2 separate regions of the Homo sapiens genome follow, and region 2 is linked to region 1. Evidence: promoter capture Hi-C in 16 types of primary human blood cells and fetal thymus (Javierre and others, 2016). All regions are on one chromosome and are shown on one strand. Each heading gives the region's core, a stretch centred on a gene start or on the middle of the fragment in contact. The rest is flanking DNA. Distances are from core to core; before and after follow the strand shown.

Region 1 (5,219 bases), core at 1-2,500:
CAAAGAAATGATAAATGTTTAGCCGGGCCCAGTGGCTCATGCCTGTAATCCCAGCACTTTGGGAGGCCTAGGCAGGAGGATCACTGAGGTCAGGAGTTCGAGACCAACCTGGCCAACATGGTGAAACCCCATCTCTAGTAAAAATATGAAAATTAGCTGGGCATGGTGGTAAGCACCTATAAACCCAGCTACTTGGGAGGCTGAGGCAGGAGAATCGCTTGAACATGGGAGGCAGAGGTTATAGTGAGCTGAGATGGCACCACCGCACTCCAGCCTGGGTGATGAGAGTGAAACGCCATCTCCAAAAAAAAAAAAAAAAGAAAAGAAATAATGTTGAAGGTACCCCAGTTACCCTGATTTGCTCATTACACATTGTGTGCAAGTATAAAAATATCATATGTACCCCATAAATATGTACAATTAATATGTATCAGTTTAAAAAGTTAATGACGATGGTACCAATATTATAGCCTCATTTAGCAGATGAGGAAACTGAGGCACTGAGCTATGAATTAACACACCTGAAATCACAGAGCACAGTCCAGACTTGAACCCAGACTGTCCAGTTCCAGTGTCCCAGCTCTAGGTCATGACCTCAGGGTCATCCCCCTCCCCTGCCTCCATTTAGCCTTCACTGTGACCCCCAGCTGCAGCCTGACATCAGTGTGATTATTCACGGGGTGGGTAGCCTGGGGCCACTGAAGGCCGGTTTGCTTTGAGCACTGCTCTCCAATGAGGCTGGAAGCCCTTTGAGGGGCTGTCGTATTCACCGCGGGATGCCCAGGTCCCGCCCAATTGGCGGAATCACCGTTTGTTGAGTGAATTCTTGAACGTCTGTGCATGGCATGCATGTGCCTGCCATTTGCTCATCTTTACCACACACTTGGCTGCAATGGCTGTCACCTTCAATAGGCGCCTTGCCAGGGACAGAGAGCTCAGGGACAGCCAAGGAGACTGGAACTGCTCAGCTGGGGATAGGGAGCCTAGGGGGCCCTGGCAGGCCCCCAAGCCTCTCCTGGGTTGTCCTGGCCAATTCACAGGGAGGCTGACCCCAGCTTCCAGGAATAAAAGATTCTGACCTCTCCGTGGCAATGAGCCCCTGTCCCAGGGGTGTGCGGGAGATCCCTGGTTATCTGAGGTGTCTCCAGGGTATATCCGCTGAAACCCCACTTCCTCTTCACTGCCCACTGAGCCTGGGACCAGCTGCTGGTCACGTGCTTGGCCCTGTAGCGTCGCTAGCCGTGCTCCTCAGTGTGCTCCCCGCCCCCTGCCGCGGCGCCTCGCCTCCCGGCTCACCTCCCCACCCCACCTGCCCGCTGCGGCTCTCCGCGGGAGATCTCACCGTTCTGGAGACAGGGCTCGCTCGCTCTCACGGTAGGCTGGAAGAACGGGCTGTCTGGGCCTTAGGAAAGGCCCATGCTGTATAAGGCATGGGGAAAGGAAAGGAAGAAAGGCAACGAACAAGAAGGAGGGCTTCCAACTGCAGCTTCCTGCCGGCTGCAGGCCTCCCTTCCTAAGCTGAGCTGAGGCTTCCTCTCCATGGGCTGGGGAGGGGGCGCCAGGAGGCCTCGGCGGGTCCGCAATTGGCCGGGACAGCTTCTCACGAAAGGTCCTGGGCCGGCATCATCAGCCTCACCTGGGAACTGGTTAGAACTACAAATTCCCTCGGCCCCACCCAGACCGACGCCAAGGGCAGCTGTGGAGTGGGGCGCGGCAATGCGCCCCTTAACAGCCCTCCAGGTGATTCTGCCGCGCAGAGGAGGAAAGAATGGGAGAAGGGAAGGGGAGAGGGAGGCGGCTTCTTTGCGACTAATTGGACACCTGCCCTTCCCCTTCCCAGGCTTCTTAGCCCGGGCTTGGACAGCCGCCTTCCGGCCAGAGGGGATGAGGTTGCGCTGCGCTCCGGGAGCGCCGATGGCGTGACTGGCCCCGCGCGGAGCAGCGACAGTAAGGCTGTGTGGGGGGAGCTGGGACCTAAGCCGCGCGCACACCCCTTTCTCTGCGTCTGGTGGAGGTGCACAGAGGCTTTTGAGTCAGGCCCAAGCGCAGCCAGGTGACCTCCCCGCGGCCTTTCAAGCCTGAGCTCGGTGGACAGCTCCCTCTCCCGTGAGTCCCGCTGTCCTGTACGCGCCCGGTCGAGCCCCGGGCTGCGCACCCCGCTAGGAGGTGGGTACTCGTCCTCCAGGAGTTGCCGGTGAGCCCTTGACCGTGGCAGGTCCCCTCCAGCCGCGAGCGACCCCTCAGTACCTGCCGATGCCTGCTGGTCTCTGGCATCCTCCAGTCGAGGGTCAGGGTCAGGGAGCAAGGCCTCACGCGGGCGCCCTCCTTGCAGCTGCCCGGCCAGCCCGCTTCTCTGCCCGGAGCCATGAATCTCAGTAGCGCCAGTAGCACGGAGGAAAAGGCAGTGACGACCGTGCTCTGGGGTGAGTGGGGACTCAGGCTCCTTCCCAGAGACACGCCCCACCTCCGGTGCGCGGCAGCTTGGGGCGCAGGTGAGCCCCTCCTTTGGGAACGAATGGAGGGCCCCACTTCCCTCCCTTTCTCCTCCGCAGGCTGCGAGCTCAGTCAGGAGAGGCGGACTTGGACCTTCAGACCCCAGCTGGAGGGGAAGCAGAGCTGCAGGCTGTTGCTTCATACGGTAGGTGTTCCCAAAAGAGGGGAGGAAGATGGTGTCCGGGAACTTTCTGGTCCCAACGGAGGGCTATGGATTTCTCCCGTCGGCCCTCAGGGTGATGAGGGGCCTCTATTTTCAACCCCGCTCAGATTTGCTTGGGGGAGAAAGCCAAAGAGGAGATGCATCGCGTGGAGATCCTGCCCCCAGCAAACCAGGAGGACAAGAAGATGCAGCCGGTCACCATTGCCTCACTCCAGGCCTCAGTCCTCCCCATGGTGCGCATTTCCCTGCTGGCTGGAAGACTGCTGTCAGCCTCACCCTCACCCTTGGGTGGGGATGGACACACACGAGGGTGCATTCACCCTACAGAAATGAGCCATGCTAGGGAGGTAGCACAGCCCATGCAGAAAGCCGGGGTCCAGCCCAGCTCACCCCTTCCTAGAGCTGTGTGACCTTGGGCCAGTTAAGCTGTCTGCAAAAATTACACTTTAAACCAGGGGTCCCCAACTGCCGGGTCAAGGACCAGAACTCGTCCTGTTAGGAACCAGGCAGCACAGCAGGAGGTGAGCAGCCAGCTAGCCAGCATTACCCCTGAGCCCTGCCTCCCGTCAGATCAGAGCGGCATTAGATTCTCAGAGGAGCATGAACCCTATGGTAAGCTGTGCGTGCGAGGGGTCTAGGTTGCATGCTTCTTATGAGAATCGAATGCCTGATCTGAGGTGGAGCAGTTTCATCCCAAAACCACCCCCCACTCCCACCCCATCCATGCAAAAATTGTCTTCCAGGAAACCATTCCCTGGTTCCACAATGATTGGAGACTGCTGCTTTAAACCATTCACTGCTAGTGACAGGAACATGGTCGATCTACATATTGGTTGTGCATCCAGAAATTCTCTAGTTTCTAATAACTTAAGTTTTCTATGCATATAATAATTGTGAATAATGGCAGTTCTTGCCTTTTTTTTTTTTTTTTTTGAGATGGAGTTTCACTCTGTCACCCAGGCTGGAGTGCAGTGGTGCAATCTCAGCTCACTGCAATTTCTGCCTCCCAGGTTCAAGCAATTCTAGTGCCTCAGCCTTCGGAGTAGCTGGGATTACAGGTGTGCACCACCATGCCTGGCTAATTTTTGTATTTTTAGTAGAGACAGGGTTTCACAATGTTGCCCAGGCTAGTCTCGAACTCCTGACCTCAGGTGATTCGCCCGCCTTGGCCTCCCGAAGTGCTGGGATTACAGGCGTGAGTCACCACGCCAGGTCTTTTTTCTTTCTTTCTTTCTTTTAATCCTACTGCACTGGCTAGGCCCTGCAGTGGAATATTGGGTGAACATGAGATCAGGTCTGACATCCTTATTTCCTTCTTGTTTTTTAAAAAAGAAGCATTTGGTAAGTACATTTTGTCAGGTTAAGGAAGTCCCCATCTAAAACCCTCTGCTTTTAAAAAATTGCTTTGCTTTGAAATCACTAGAGGGGGTTAAATTTTACCAAATGCTTTTCTATTCATATGATTCTAGGTTCTTTAGTCCACGTGGTAAATTATATGAAGATAATAATATCTGAGTTCCTTTGCCATCCTGGGATAAATACTACTGGTCATGTTACAAATTCTAGATTTGTTTTACTCATATATTGAGCCCTTTTTTTTACCTGTATACATGTGAGGTTGGCCTATAAGTGATAGTATTTAGGTGTTCAGGACATGCTAGCCTCATGCACTGAGGGTGGAGGGTTCTCTCCTATTCCCTGGAACAGTGAATGGAAGACTAGGATCAGCTGTCCTTGGAGGTTTGGGAGACCCCTCTGTCAAACTGCCCTCAGACTTTCCTGTTCTATTTACACATACTTTGCAGGCGATCTCATCCTTTCCTGTGGTTTTCAAGACCATCTAAACAAATGAAGACTCAGGAACTTATTTCTGTAAACTCAACCTCTCTTGAGCTCCAAGTCCTATATCCAACTAAATGGCTTTGATAGATATCTAATAAATATCCCAAATTTAACATGTCTAAATCCACATATTCAATTTTTATCTCTAATCCACCCGCCTCCCCTTCAACCTGATTTTCTCTCAGAAAACAGCTGTTTTTCCAGTTAGCCAAGACAAAGCTCTTTTTTTTTTTTTTTCCCCTGAGATGGAGTTTCACTCTTATCACCCAGGCTGGAGTGCAATGGTGCGCTCTCGGCTCACTGCAACCTCCGCATCCCATGTTCGAGTGATTCTCCCATCTCAGCCTCCCAAGTAGCTGGGATTACAGGCATGTTCCACTACGCCAGGCTAATTTTTGTAATTTTAGTAGAGATGGGTTTTTGCCATGTTGGTCAGGCTGGTCTCGAACTCCTGACCTCAGGTGATATACCCGCCTTGGCCTCCCAAAGTGCTGGATTTACAGGCATGAGCCACCACACCCAGCCAAATCCTCTTTTTTCCCACACCCATATCTGATCTACCAGCAGTCCTGTTGTCTCTGCCCCCATCTTATACCCCAATGGACCACATCTCATCATCTTCCCTGCTACCCCTGGTACAGGTGACAGTTGCCTGTGGCTCCATTTTAATTGCACAGCCTTCCACCTGGTCTACCTACCATCACATGGTCCCCTGTAGTCT
Region 2 (5,426 bases), core at 1,327-3,826, 1.6 Mb before region 1:
TCTCGAAACCTTCTTTTCCACAGGGAAGTGGGCTTCCTTAATATATCTAAATCCACTTTCATAATTTTTGTTCATTTAAAAATAAAAATGACATGGGTTGCTAAGTTTTAGTTCTATCCATTTAAAGGCTTGAAGTTTTGGTTCAAACCTCACCTCATCTTCTTGTAGGAGAGGCGTGACTCCAGTGGTTTGGGGTGGAGGGCTGTTGTTATCTGCTACCCTGACTAGCTGTTGTGGTTCTCTCCATCTTCCCTTTACTTATTCTTTGGAACTGAGCTGGGGCAAAGAGAGAAGAATTTATGTGATTACTCATGGTGTGTTGGCTGCTCTTCTCTCTTGGTCATCTCTGTGGTTCCTCTTTTGGTGTTCACATAATGTCTGTCCCTTCTGTTGTCCATCATTGCTTCTGTCTGCCACTGACTGATTATAATGTTTTCTGTGTAGTCAATGTCCCATTGTTAATTCCTTTCCTCCTGAAACAACTACAAACTGGACAACATGTATGGAACAAGTTTTCAACACATTGGACAACAGGCAACAAGTGACAGTGATTCCGCGAGATGGGCAACAACAGGGTAAGCCGTAGGGTTGCCTCAGCTTGAGAAAGTTTCCAGGCTGTAGCACAAGGAAGGAGAAACAGGGTAGAGGTTGGAAGTCTGGGGAGGCCAAGGAGACTAGAATAGCAGGGCAGAGGGCCTGAGAGAAGAGGGTCAGATTAGGACTCTGGAGGGCTACAGAATCCCACTCAAGGCTTCCGCAGAGCACTGATGGGTGCAGATATGTGAGCACATTACTCAAGGGCAGAGAAAAATACCACCCCTCATTTTTTAAAATTATTATACTTTAAATTCTGGGTTACATGTACAGAACGTGCAGTTCTGTTACGTAGGTATACACGTGCCATGGTGGTTTGCTGCACCCATCAACCTGTCACCTACATTAGGTATTTCTCCTAATGTTGTCCCTCCCCTAGCCCCCCACTCCCCGCAGGCCCCAGTGTGTGATGTTCCCCTCCCTGTGTCCATGTGTTCTCATTATTCACCTCCCACTTATTGGTGAAAACATGTGGTGTTTGGTTTTTTGATCTTGTGATAGTTTGCTGAGAATGATGGTTTCCAGCTTCATCCATATCCCTGCAAAGGACATGAACTCATCCTTTTTTATGGCTGCATAGTATTCCATGATGTATATGTGCCACATTTTTTTAATCCAGTCTGTCATTGATGGACATTTGGGTTGGTTCCAAGTCTTTGCTATTGTGAATAGTGCCACAATAAACATATGGGTGCATGCGTCTTTATTGTAGAATGATTTATAATCCTTTGGGTATATGCCCAGTAATGGGATTGCTAGGTCAAATCGTATTTCTAGTTCTAGAACCTTGAGGAATTGCCACACTGTCTTACACAATGGTTGAACTAATTTACACTCCCACCAACAGTGTAAAAGTGTTCCTATTATTCCACAACCTCTCCAGCATCTGTTGTTTCCCGTATCTTGAGTTGATTTTTGTGTAAGGTGTGAGGAAGGGGTCCAGTTTCAGTTTTCTGCATTTGGCTAGCCAGTTTTCTCAACACCATTTATTAAATAGGGTTTCTTTTCCCCATTGCTTGTCTGTGTCAGGTTTGTCAAAGATCAGATACCACTCCCCAAAATTAGTGGAATATACTCTAGGGGGCAAAGAGGGTTGGGAATTGTTCTTGTTCATAGCAGCCAGAGTGAAAACAGTCATAATTTGTCAGAGTTTGGGTAGAGTACTCAGAAAGGTTTGATATAGTAATAGGAGAAAATTAGACCTAGATCTAATGTCACTCTGGTCTCACTTAACAAAGCTTAAAAGCAAGACATAAAAGGATCAAACTGTTTCCAATGAACTTAACTGCATCCCAGTACAAAGATCAATAATTTTAATAATCACATAAAAATATCCAGCACAAACATGGTAAATATTTCAGTGTCTTGCATTTGATAAAAAATTATGAAGCAGGAAAATATAACCGATAATAAGAAGAAAGCCTGGTTTAACATTTGAAAATCAATCAATGCAATTTTTTATGTTGACTAGTTAAAAGGAAAAAAGGCACCTGATTATCTTGATGAGTACAGAGAAAACACTACCAAAATCTAGCATCTATTTCTGATAAAAACCTCTCAGCAACCTAGGAATGGCAAGGTATTTCCTCAACCTAATAAAAGGTGTCCAGGAAAAACCTACAGCAGACATTGCATTTAATGATGAAAGACTGAAAGACTGAATGTCTTCCTCCTAAGATCAGTGAAAAGTTAAGGATGTTTACTTTCACTACTTTTATTCAACCCTGTACTGAAGAATTTGCCAAGGCAATAAGGCAAGAAAAATAAAACGTACCCAAATCATAAAGGAAGAAGTAAACCTGGCGAGGTGTGGTGGCTTATGCCTGTAATCCCAACACTTTGGGAGGCTGAGGCGGGTGGATTGCTTGAGGTCAGGAGTTCAAGACCAGCCTGGGCAACATGATGAAGCCTGTCTCTACTAAAAATACAATAACTAGCTGGGCATGGTAGCGTGTGCCTGTAATCCCAGCTACATGGAAGGCTGAGGCAGGAGAATTGCTTGAACCCAGGAGGCAGAGGTTGCACTGAGCCGAGATCGTGCCACTGCACGCCAGCCTGGGCAACAGACCAAGACTCTGTTTCAAAAAAAAAAAAAAAGTAAACCTGTCTTATTTCGTAGACAACCATAATCATCTAAGAAGAAAATCCTATGGAATCTATGAAAAAGTTCAGGAAATAATCATGGGACACAGGATATACGATCAGTACATAAAATTTAATTTTTTTTTTTTGAAATAGATTCTTGCCAATGCATTCTTACCAAGTGCAATTTGTTGCATTCTGAGTTGCATTCTGTTCATTTGCCCAACAGTGCTCATCCCGATGTGTGTTTACATACTCACTTGTTTACATATGATCACTTATGTCTTCTCTGTGACTTCCCACCTGATAGCAAACTCCATGAAGGCAGACACAGTGCCTGTTTTATTGCTTGGTGTTTGAACAGCACCTGTTACTATGCTAGCACATACCATCCAATAGATGGTACCTGTTGTTATCATAGCAGGGAGTCAGTAAAGGAATAAAATTAAATTAACAGATGAACTAGTAATTTTGCAGATGAAGAAACTGAGGTTCAGATAAACTCACTCACTAACCTGAGGCCACATGACTAATTGAGGTTCCACTGCAGGTCCCTGATCCCATGTAAACATGCTGCTCGCTGTGTCTCTCTCCTGCAAGCAGTGGAGTGGCATTTCAAGGAGTGTTTCCCTGCCTGGCTCAGGAGAAGCTTATGTTTCTGTACCAAATGTTACTCCCTATCTTACAAAATTTGGGAGAGGAATAAAGAGGCAGCCTGAATGGCTCTAACCCAGGGCTGACGCATAGTTAAGCTGTCCTGGAGCCCAGCAGGCAGTTTGTAAATTATTAGAATGTATCTGCCACATCTGGTGCCTGCACACTGTGTGGAATGTGTAGCCATGGAGTTCAAACCAAGACCTCACATTTATAGGGTTGTAAAGATGTAGAGAGACCGGTGGATCTTGTTTCTATTCCACCCAAAGGCTAAGGTTGCCTCGCATAGATCTTTGAGAGGCGGACAGGGCTAAGAACTACTGCTTTGCCATGGAGCTTCATGAAAGCAGATAAATCCATGTGTCTTTGCCAGAGTTACTGCGATGTATCCAGTCAGATACTTAAGATCACTTATCCTCATCACCTTATTTAGTAGGAATATGATATTTATATATCATCCTGCAAGGTGGTCCATATGACCTCCTTCAACAGAAAATGTCAAGTGTATCACTGAGTTTTCATGTTAACAAGCATTGAGAAGACACAATTTATTTTTCTCACTAAATTTTTGTCTTGGAGCTCACCGTGCACCCAGCAGTCAATGTGGCCTGAAGACTCAGTCCAAGTGGCTCTGAGAGGCTATGATGCTCTTCACTAAATGTGGCCCCTGCTGCAGACAGTGAGAAGCTGAGGATCCTGTGTCTGCAGTTGCCCAAAGCAGAATCTTTATCACCCACAACCTGTATCCAGAAAATAATTCCCTGTTCCTTGACTGAGGCAAATCTCAAACTCCTGCTGAGTTCCTGGTACTCAGATCTGACTCTGACTTTACATAGACTTCTGTGGCAGAGCTGGGTTTTTATTTAAGTGTTCTAGGACAACTTTTCCTACAACCTTCAGAGAAGGAAATGGGAGTGCGTGGTAGTAACACCCCAGGATGTAGGTGAAAGAGTAGAGACACTGGACTCAGAGAATGCTGGGGTCAAATCCGGGAATTGTTTCCTTCTTCCCTGATGGCTTTGAACCAGTTAGTTAACCTCTGTACTTCACTTTTTTTTTGCCTATAAATTGTGGAGAATAATGACCACCTCTAAGGGAAATGACAAGGGTTAATATGTATTATGATTATATGTTAAATTACTATAATATATACTATACCCTCTGGGAAGAGTCTGTTACCATGGTTGGCACATAGTAGGAACTCAGGAAGTGGTCACTATGATCACTTATCATATCCATTAAATGCAACAACATGTTCATCACAGCATTTTAAACGCAAACCTTGAAGTGATGTTAATGTATACCAATAAAAATGGCATCCACTCCTATGATGAAATATTGTACAACCATTGCAAATCATGATTCTTAAAGAAATGGGAAAATGCTCACAAAAGAAATGTCAAGTTGGAGAAAGATTCAAATCATAAATATATATCCTAATTTATGCAAGATAAACAAAAGGATGCTATGCACATATATAAATAGGACTTCATCCACTCCCTCAAAAAGATTTGCAAAAATATATCCCTGAAAGTTATCGTTTATCTAAATGGCAAGAGTAGGGGTGGTTTTCGTTTTCTTTATTCTTTTTTGTGCTTTCCAGATTTCCCACAATGAATATTGCCTGCAATTATAATACAAGAAAAAGCAAACATTATTACTTTAAAAAAATGATATGAGAAGCTACACCTCATTTTTCACAAAACAACAGCTGCTGAGAAACATTCACTTTCTGCTACATGCATTCAAATGCCCCAGCCATGGCCTGGCATGGTAGGGGGACAGCAGTGGCCCCCAGTCTGCCAGGCCAGCATCACAGATGGGCTCTCCACAGCACAGGGAGTGTCCAAGCCTTGCCAGGCTGTGGTTCCCTCCTCCTCTCTGCTGGCGTTTCCTCTGGTATTTATTCACTCACATAGCCTATAGAGTTAAAAGAGGTTTGTTTCTTTTCAGGCTGTTGAGTGCAGCCAGGGTAATTTAGTAGAAAAATGTCATGCTAATGCAATTCAAAGTTCAAATGATCTTTCATTTTGAGGGAAAGAAGAATGTGTGTGCAGTTGGAATGTTAAAACTCACTACTTGCCCTGCAATTCAAA

The links. Contacts are between HindIII fragments. The CHiCAGO score rates a contact against its expected background, and 5 or more counts as called.
Region 2: a contact is called between a fragment that was not itself captured here and the fragment with the promoter of NPM2 in region 1, in 1 of 17 cell types (total CD4 T cells). The highest score is 6.0, in total CD4 T cells.

Annotation. Positions count from the first base shown.
Region 1 is chr8:22,022,884-22,028,102 of GRCh38, forward strand. NPM2 (nucleophosmin/nucleoplasmin 2) reads left to right here and starts at 1,251. Exons shown (of 10, transcript NM_001286680.2): 1 at 1,251-1,740; 2 at 1,841-1,947; 3 at 2,333-2,423; 4 at 2,553-2,638; 5 at 2,764-2,889. The coding sequence starts at 2,366. RefSeq lists enhancers at 339-1,052, 1,053-1,765. The HindIII fragment of the contact is 16,503 bases long and covers 1-5,219 here.
Region 2 is chr8:20,400,385-20,405,810 of GRCh38, forward strand. No RefSeq gene overlaps it. Among named protein-coding and RNA genes, the nearest start is that of LZTS1, 99 kb to the left of the region's middle. The HindIII fragment of the contact is 1,493 bases long and covers 1,831-3,323 here.